Linked DNA regions of Homo sapiens: all the other regions are linked to region 1. The links are contacts of gene promoters, found by promoter capture Hi-C in blood cells and fetal thymus (Javierre and others, 2016). All regions are on one chromosome and are shown on one strand. The core of a region is centred on a gene start or on the middle of the fragment in contact, and the rest is flanking DNA. Distances in the headings are between cores, read along the strand shown. Region 1 holds the start of LINC01530 (long intergenic non-protein coding RNA 1530). Region 2 holds the start of LOC105372473 (a long non-coding RNA gene). Region 3 overlaps ZNF71 (zinc finger protein 71).

Region 1 (2,944 bases), core at 260-2,759:
CAGCATGCTCTAGGTACTGGGACACAGCAGTGAGCAAGATAGGAAAGGTTGCAGCTGTCAGGGCACTGATGTTCTAATGGAGGAACCAGGCCATGGATAAGGAAGTAAATGACTAAGATGCTTTCCAAATACGAGGGAATTATCTTTGGTGGTATGACTGGGGGGGGGGGAACAGGGAGGGGGTTCTTTAGGGTGGCTGGAGGCCTTTGAGCTGAGGCCAACAAAATGAGTAGACAGATATTGGGTCAGGGTGGGAAGAATGCTCCAAATTGAGTTAATAGCAAATGCAAAGGACATGAAGGGCAGGGCCTGGCTGTGTTCAGCCCATTGGAAAGTGTGTTGTGACTGAGGACGACCAGAAAGGACCAGAAGCTTAGAGGTTGGCAGGATAAGGAGCTTGGATTTTATTCTGAGATGGGAACCACTGGATGATTTTAAGCTGGGGGGCAGGGTAGTGACTGGTGACAGGATCTGATTTATATTTCCACAGGCTTCCTGGCACTGTGCCTGAATAGAGGGTGGAGTGTGGCAAGGGAAGAAACAGAACAGTGAGGAGGCCCCTGCAGTGATGCAGGTGAGGAGTAACGGTAGCTCGGAGCAGAATGGAGACAGTGGAAGTGGAGAGAAGTGGTTAGATTCTGGGCCTCTTCTGGAGATAGAGACGATGAGACTCACACAAGATTTGGTTGCGGGAGGGAAGCGGATGAGAGAAACAGAACACTGGCGACCATTCCAAGATTTTGGCTTGAGCACTTGGATGGACAGTTAGTGGGGAGGAGGCAGAAAGATTGTGAGAGGAGCAGGTTTAGGACAGGGAATCTGGGATTTCGTTTGGATGTGGTAGATTTGAGGTCCTTTGCTCTGTAAGGTCTTTCCTGAACCCTGGGCTGGGTCTAGCACCTCCTCTGTGTTCCCACAGCCTCCTGAGCACCCCCTGGGCCAGCCCTGACCACTCTGTGTTGTAACCAGGACAGAGGAGGGTGCACTCGCACTGCACCCAGGTTGAAGGGCGAGAGTGAGAAGGTGTCAGGCTGGGCCGCAGAATCCAAAGCGGGTCAGCAGGTACAACAGCTGCTTAGAGCACTCCCACCCGGAGAGAGGGATTGAGAGATCACGGAAAAGGGTGCCATCTTTCCAGGGACGCCTACCAGAACGCGGGGGAGAGAAATACAGAGACCCTCAACTCCGCCACGTCATCGCGACAAAGGGCCAGGACCGGCCGGCCGCGGGATGGGCGCTCACCTGGGCAGAACTGGAGCTGGAAGGGCCAACCTCCAAAGAAACGAGGAGCGGGCGGAAGGACTACGACTCCCGGAAGGCTTTGGGCCCATCCGCCTACGACTCCCAGGTGCCCCTGCGTTGCGTCGTCCCGAAACACTTGCGGCTCTCGGACAAACTGGGCCTACAGTTCCCAGAGATCCTCGCGGCAGCGCTGCGCATTCTGCGCACGCCTCCCAGAGTGTACTAGGCCGGTCCGGCCCGCTTCCCGTCTGCGCCTGCGCAAGCACAATAGCCGTGCCAGAATTCTCTGCCAGCTGCTGTGCACTGCTGTCAGTGCAAAGATGGGATGGACTTTTTTTTCAGATTTTCTGCTGTTGTGGGAGTATGGCAAGAGTTTGAGGGGGCGGAGAAAGAGATTGGGAATGTGAAAAGGGAAGATAGCACCTGCGCTAAGCACATTCCTAGGATTGGGCCGCGTCTCGGGGATGCAGAGTGGGCTCTTCGGCGCGCCCTGCAGCCATGGGAGTGGACGCCTGCCCAGGCCGAAGGGCAAGGACTTGCGGGGTGGGGTCTCTGTGCATGCGCGGAGCTGAAAGGGAGCGTTTTGCAGATCTCCACGCGTGCGCAACTCTCGGGACGTGGACGCGGTGAACAGTTACGCACAATCGTCTTTCTGACACAAACACACCCTGCCAGGTGGAAGCCAGGATGGAGGGCAGGTGAGACCCGTAAGGCAAGATCCCAAAACCAAGGAACGGAGCACTCTCCCCGCTTGCTCCCCAGATCCAAGCCCTCCACTTCCTTCCAATGCCCCCCTTCCCGAAACTGCTCCCTCCTGTATATTCTGAGATCTTATCACTATTCCCGTGAGGCCCTTGATAAGGAGGATTGAGAGTGAAGGGTGATGGGAGACACGCCTTGGGCGTCTTCTGTCCACCTCAAGGATTGAACTTTGGTAACTGGAACTCATTCATTTGTTAATCTGTGTGCTAGGCCCTTTGACCCGCTGGCCAGATGCACCGGGACACAGGTGTATTCAGCCTGGTCCAGAGATAAGGATGATAAATCTTAATGTAAAGGTATCAGATGTTAAGGGCTGCAGGAGCCCAGAGGTTACAAGTGCTGCAAGCCAGAACATGGGGAAACAACAGCAATTAAGCCGTTAGCTTGTGCCTTGGAGGGGTGTTTGCCCTGCACCCCACTCACTACCTGAAGATAAATGGCTTCTCCAACGTGTAGTGGGGTTGGGATGATGAGGATGACATCACTGCCAGGTGGGAGGCAGGAGCTGCAGGTCCTGACATGATGAGGCAGGTATGGGCCGCCCTGGGCTGAGGGGGACATGGGCTACCCTGGACTGGAGGGCTGGGCTGTGGCATGGGGACCCTGTCAGAGACAGGTGTTTGGCCTCCATGCCTTCCTGTGTCTCTGGAAGGGTGAAACTAAGCGGGATGCTCCTCTCCCAGCCCCACCTGCTTTTCAGAGGCTACCATATGCTGGAGGGGGAAGATCCTGGCCACAAGCAGAGGCCCTGGAGGTGAATCAGTGTTGGAAGTGGGGTGGTTGGTTCTGGGTCCTCCCTGAGGCTCACATGGCTGCCCCTCCCCATCCTCCAGGCCTCGCCTTCTGTCCCGGATCCGCCAATCCTCCGATCCCTGGATCCTCTGATGATGGCATCAACTGTCTGGGCTACAGGTTGCTCTCCAAAGAGTGGCTGCCCCTC
Region 2 (2,944 bases), core at 439-2,938, 5.1 Mb before region 1:
TTTGCAGATGGCGGCCTTCTCCCTGTGCCTCTACATATCATGTTCTCTCTATGCGTGTCTCTGCGTGCAAATGCACCCTTTTTATAAGGACAGCTGTCATTTTGGGTTATGGCCCACCCTATTTACTCATTTTAACTTTATTACCTCTGTAAAGAACCTGTCTCCAAATAAAGTCACATTCTGAGGAATAGGGGGTTAGCATTCCAACATATATTTGGGAGGGGGGTGAGCATAAATCAACCCCCAACAGGTAAATGTGGCTTTCTAAAGAAAATTGTCTTAAAAACCATATTTAAAGGAAATGAATATTTGAGTTGTTTCTGTTGTCCATCCTTTGAGGAAAATGTCCCTTCTCATGAAGCTTCCAGAAGGAAGAGGGAAGCACAGAATGCCTCTTGAGGTCTACGAATAAGTAAAATATGAACTGTAAATAAAGCATGTGTCATGGTTTAAGGGCAGCCGTGGGGCTACATAAAGTAATGTGGAATCTCACAATCAATGGCATGTTGGTTTAGTGAAATGCATTTTTTTTCCCATTCTATCTTCACAGATTTCTCTGCTTTTCCAATTATCTAAAAATGATCTCATGCCTATGTTTCCAATGGCCAAGGGAATAATTTAGGAAGGCTAACAGAATTCCTTCAGAGCAGGCACCTTAAAATAATGCCGGCCAATAGTAAATGCCATGTGCATGTCAACTATTAAAATTATTTAAGGCCGAGGTGGAAGGATTGGAGTTCAAGACTAGCCAGGGCAACATAGCGACACCTCATCTCTACAAAAAATAAAAGTTAAAAAAAAGTTAGCCAGTGTGGTGGCACATGCCTGCAATCTCAGCTACTCAGGAGGCTAAGATGGGAGGATCACTAGAGTTGGGGAGGTCGAGGATGCAGTGAGCCGTGATTGTACCACTGCACTCCAGCCTGTGCAACAAAGCGAAACTGTTTCTAAAAAATAAAACTCTCTCCTGCCTCTGCCAGGAGAGAGCTTGTTCCTCCAACCCCAGGAGGCCAGGCAAGCATGGACAGGAGCCAAGGGAGCAGGGTCATGAACTTTTTCATCTTTGCAAAGTGGGCACTTGGCATCAGGGTCCCATCACCAGAAAGCACCAAAGCCCCTGGCACCCCACCCACTCCATCCTACCCAGGGACCCCAAGTAGGCAACTGCTATGGCAGTGGGTCCAGCCCAGGCCGGCACTGCCAGCCTCCTCTCCCTGCAGTAGGCACCAGCTCTACCTCCCCCGGCAGGCAATGTCCTGGCTTCTCAGCCCAGCACCATCTGTTCCCCTAGACTTCTCAGGGGCCAGCCCAGTCTGGGCCACCCTTTCCCTCATCCTCGGCTCCCACACAGGTGACAGGCCCAGCAGATAGCTTCTCTCTGGGAAAGGTTGGATGCTGCCTTACATCCCCTTCTATCCCTCCTCCCATCCACACACACAGGCACCCACCCACACCAGGTCTGCTTGTTTCTCACATGTAGGGAGAGGGGGGGAGACCAACCCCTTTGTGTCTTTTGAAATACGAAGAAAAATGTGTGTTCAGGAGCATGACTCCAGTGCTGGGCTCTTGGGCCCAGTTCAGTCTGTCTTGTCTCAAATCTAGGCACTTTTGCTTCAATTTTATTTTTTTTAAGAAAACAAAAACAGAAATCTGCACTAATTTACCTGGTTCTTAGGAAAACTTTTTTTTATTTTTTACATTTTTTGGTGTCCGTTTGTATTGAATAATTTGCTACATTTGTAAAATGTAAGAGGTATATATAATATATGTATATTTCTAACGTAAAAACAATTTTTTTCTTTTCAAGATTTTTTCTTAAAAAGATGAGAGAAACATATTTTTTCAGGAAAAACAAACTTTAAAAAAAAAAGAGGAGAAATAAAACCTTTTCTCCCCTTTCCCCATCCTCTATCTATCCCTGTTTCCCAGGAACAAATCAAAAGGTGGATTATCTTCTGAAGAATGGAAACTGTTAGTCCAGAATGATGTCTTTTTCTCAATGCAGTGAGTTATAGATTCTCTAGTTTTCTCCCTAGGGATGGGAAGGGGGCATTGACGCAAGCCTGGAGAGGAGCCCGGGGAGCAGGGTCATGAAGTTTTTTCTTCAGTGAAGGAGGAATACAATCAAGGGTTTTGTATTCAGAATGTTGTGCAATATTTTGGAATAGGACATTGGTGTGTTTAGAGATTTTAGTTTAAAAACAAAACAAAAAGATTGATCAAATCTGTACAGTTTCTATTGTTCCAGATTTTTTAAAGTTTGTATTAAAAGCATGATACATAATAAAAATAAATAAATAAATAAAACTAAAAAGTAAAATGAAATTCTTCATCTATGTTAATGGATTTGCCACCTTCTTTGCCATAGACTGGAATGACATCAGCTACCTGAGACCAAAATAAAAGTGTGGGTTGCAAACCCTGGCACCTACCTTTTTAGATTCCGCAGCCTGCAGTAGGGACTTAGCCTGTCTGAACCTCAGCTTCCTTCTTTCTTCTTCTTTTTTTTTGAGACGAAGTCTCGCTCTGTCACCCAGGCTGGAGTGCAGTGGTGCGATCTCAGCTCACTGCAACCCTCGCCTCCCAGGTTCAAGCCATTCTCCCGCCTCAGCCTTCCAAGTAGCTGGAAGTGCATGCCACCATGCTCGGCTAATTTTTGTATTTTTAGTAGAGACGGGGGTTTCGCCATATTGGCCAGGCTGGTCTCGAACTCCTGACCTCAGGTGATCCACCCGCCTCGGCCTCCCTAAGCGCTGGGATGACAGGTGCCCGGACTCAAGTTCCTTCTTTCTAAGCCTGTGGGCTCGGCCTCATCCCCTGAGCAAGAAAAAAGTCCCACCCCTGAGTTACTGGAAGCGCCCACCGCCATGCACTGAGGCTGTAGTGGGCGGGGCTCGGGGCAGCAGCCCGGCGCTCCTCGGGCCCCCAGGGGTCAGCGCCCTGC
Region 3 (2,944 bases), core at 330-2,829, 5.0 Mb before region 1:
AAAATTGTAAATTAAAACACCAGTTAAATTTCTGATACAGTTATATTTTGCTGGATCAAATTACCCATTTTCACTGTCTCTTTCAATATAAGTCAGCTTTGGTAGACAATAGTAAGTGGGTAGACTTGTTGAAAATGGCCTCAAATCCTTCACTAGTGGAGTCTAGTTCCCCCATCCTTGAATGTGGGCTGGCCTTAGGGACCTGCTTGACCAATAGAATCTGGCAGAGGTAATGTTCTGGGACTCTCAGGCTAGATCACAGAAGACTTCCAGCTCCTGCCTCAGCCTCCTGGAACACTTGCTCTGGGAGAAGCCAGTCATCACAACAGGTGTCTCATTATGTCTCATTACTCACATGCCATGCTGTGAGGAAGCCCAAGCAGCCACAAGGAAAATCCATGTGGAAAAAAAAAAGATGCCCACCAAGGCCTCAGCGGTGCCATCCATACCACAGCAAGAGACAGACATGTGAGCAAAGAAGCCAGCAGACTACTCTAGCCCAGCTGCCATCCAACAGCCACCACACAAGAGATGCCAGGCACGAACTGCCCAGCTGAGCCCATCAACCCCAAAATAGTAATAAATTGTAGTTTTTGAGCCATTAAGTTCTGAGATGGTTACTACCCAGCAAAATATAACTGGATCGGAAATTTAACTGATTAATTTATAATTTTCCGGGCTACCAGAAAAGTATGGTTGAATTTTTACCCCCTAAACAGGAATTCTAGATCAATGGTATCTAATACATATTCTAACATATTCTAAATATGTTCATTGATGGTTCCTGGAAACACACAGAGTGATACTTCACCCTTTCATGTATTCATTTGACGAATATTTATTAAGTGCCTGCCATGCACCAGGCACTGGGCATACAACTGTGAATAAGACAGACATGGTATTGGCACCAGGTTTCTTCCATACTAATTCATTAGTAAATAATGATAAAAATAACTAATGTTCATTAAGCACATACTACATGCCAGGTATTGTTCTAAGCCCACTGCACACACCATCTCACTTAATCTTCAAAAGAACCCTACTATGTAGGCACTTTTATGAGCTCATTTCTTTTACAAAGGGGGAGACTGAGGCACAAGAGGTCACACAGATGGGAGTGGCAGCATTTTAAACCTAGTCAGTTCAACTCTCAGCCCCAACATTAGATGGCCTCATCCATGTATAATACCAATCTAGCTGGCATCACAGCCAAGGAGCAGTTTAGTTTGGATCAGACCCTGAGATGGATGGCACGTCTTTTGCCTATAAAGAAGACAGTTGGATAAATATCACAGAGTGTCCCAGCTGGCGCTTCTCTTCCAGACAGATCACAAGCGATCCTGAAGCCACTTCCAGAGATGGTGCTTGACAGTCGACCTCCTCCCTAGTGTGATGAAGGCCTGCACGTCTCACATTATTGCTGGCTGATCACATCATCCATGCATGACTCTGCCACATGAAGATCTTGAGCCATGGCCACAGATTAAATTTCTGATCCAGTTATATTTTGCTGGGTAGCAGCCATCTCAGAACTTAATGGCTCAAAAACAACAATTTATTACTATTTTGGGGTTGATGGGCTCAGCTGGGCAGTTCGTGCCTGGCATCTCTTGTGTGGTGGCAGTTGGATGGCAGCTGGGCTAGAGTAGTCTGCTAGCTTCTTTGTTTACAAGTCTGTCTCTTGAGCTGGTATGGATGGCACAGCTGAGGCCTTGGTGGGCATCTCTTTTTCTCCACATCACTTTTCCTTGTGGCTGCTTGGGCTTCCTCACAGCATGGCATGTGAGTAATGAGAGACCTATTGTGTCCTACAGAGGGACCTGCTGTTCTGAACTGATTCAGTGGTACAACCCCCAAGGCACAAGGAAAGAACGGGAGTTCTGAGCACACAGAGCATATGAGATGTACCTGGGCCTGAAGCCAGCTGTACACATTTCTATTTTGCTCCTATGGGGGTTTCAAAATTGTTTTTAATTGTTACTCACATGAAAAACACATCCACAATTTACCAAGAAAATGAATTTCTAGTTTCTCTTTAAACAGCAGAATATCTGGCCACTCTAGGCTGGAGCTGAGTGGTGGCTGACCCTTTGATGGGGCAAGAAAGCTCCAATTTGCTACAGGCCCCACCTGCCCACTTATTTATGTAAGACACTCAGAATGGTAATGCATAGCATACAGCAGGCACTCAATAAGTGCCAGCTATTGTTACTGACACTCAGAGCTCACTGGCTCTCTCCAGCATACTGAGTGTCCCCACCACCAACTGAATCCCAAGGGGAGGCCTCACCCCCGCTGGCTAGTCCCTCTATGGTCCTAGGGTGCCCTTCTGGGGCTTGGGCTCAAGATAGCCTCCTCTGCCTGAGGGGTCACCTTTGATAGAAAGCAGTTGGGCTGGTGGTTCAGAGTGTAGGCTCAGGAACCACACTCTGCAACGGAATCCTGGCTCTGCCCCTCATGAGCTGTGTTTCCTTGGACAACTGTCTTTCTCTTTCTAAGCCTCATATGAGAGGCAGGCTTCCTGATAACAATGTCCCCCTCCACAGGGTCGTAAGGTTAAATGTGTACAAATATGGTCCAAACACAGTGCCTCGTGTGATGGAGGAAGCTCTCAGTAAATGTCGACTCTTGCTATTATTTAATGTTGATATTTAATATATATCTTATGTACAACTGTAGATCCTTATATGATATTATTTGACCTTTTGGCCCAATGTATCTTTCAGCCAGCCCAGCTAATAATTCCTCCTTTTCTAAAAATTTAAACTACTTGATTGAGGTGTGACTGATATATAAAAAGCTGTGCATATTTAATAATATACATAACTTGATGAGTTTGCAGATGCATATACACCCGTGGAACCATCACCACCATCAAGGCCATAAACGGATCCATTACCTCCAAAAGTTCCCTCTCACACCTATATTTATTTATTTTACAAAA

What was found. The method cuts DNA at HindIII sites, captures the fragments that hold promoters and counts their contacts. A CHiCAGO score of 5 or more calls a contact.
Region 2: a fragment that was not itself captured here is called in contact with the fragment with the promoter of LINC01530 in region 1 in 1 of 17 cell types (total CD8 T cells); the score reaches 6.5 in total CD8 T cells.
Region 3: a contact is called between a fragment that was not itself captured here and the fragment with the promoter of LINC01530 in region 1, in 1 of 17 cell types (non-activated CD4 T cells). The highest score is 5.5, in non-activated CD4 T cells.

What each region holds. Positions count from the first base shown.
Region 1 is chr19:51,592,945-51,595,888 of GRCh38, reverse strand. LINC01530 (long intergenic non-protein coding RNA 1530) reads left to right here and starts at 1,509. Exons shown (of 2, transcript NR_034159.1): 1 at 1,509-1,940; 2 at 2,838-2,944. RefSeq lists a silencer at 592-759 and enhancers at 842-891, 1,102-1,411, 1,158-1,793, 1,794-2,429, 2,430-2,944. The HindIII fragment of the contact is 8,842 bases long and covers 375-2,944 here.
Region 2 is chr19:56,671,920-56,674,863 of GRCh38, reverse strand. It overlaps LOC105372473 (a long non-coding RNA gene), which reads right to left and starts at 2,885. Exons shown (of 4, transcript XR_936110.4): 1 at 2,433-2,885. The HindIII fragment of the contact is 2,649 bases long and covers 364-2,944 here.
Region 3 is chr19:56,604,145-56,607,088 of GRCh38, reverse strand. The region is part of intron 2 of ZNF71 (zinc finger protein 71); the gene reads right to left. The region is part of intron 2 of ZNF71-SMIM17 (ZNF71-SMIM17 readthrough (NMD candidate)); the gene reads right to left. Among named protein-coding and RNA genes, the nearest start is that of ZNF71-SMIM17, 10 kb to the right of the region's middle. The HindIII fragment of the contact is 7,069 bases long and covers 1-2,944 here.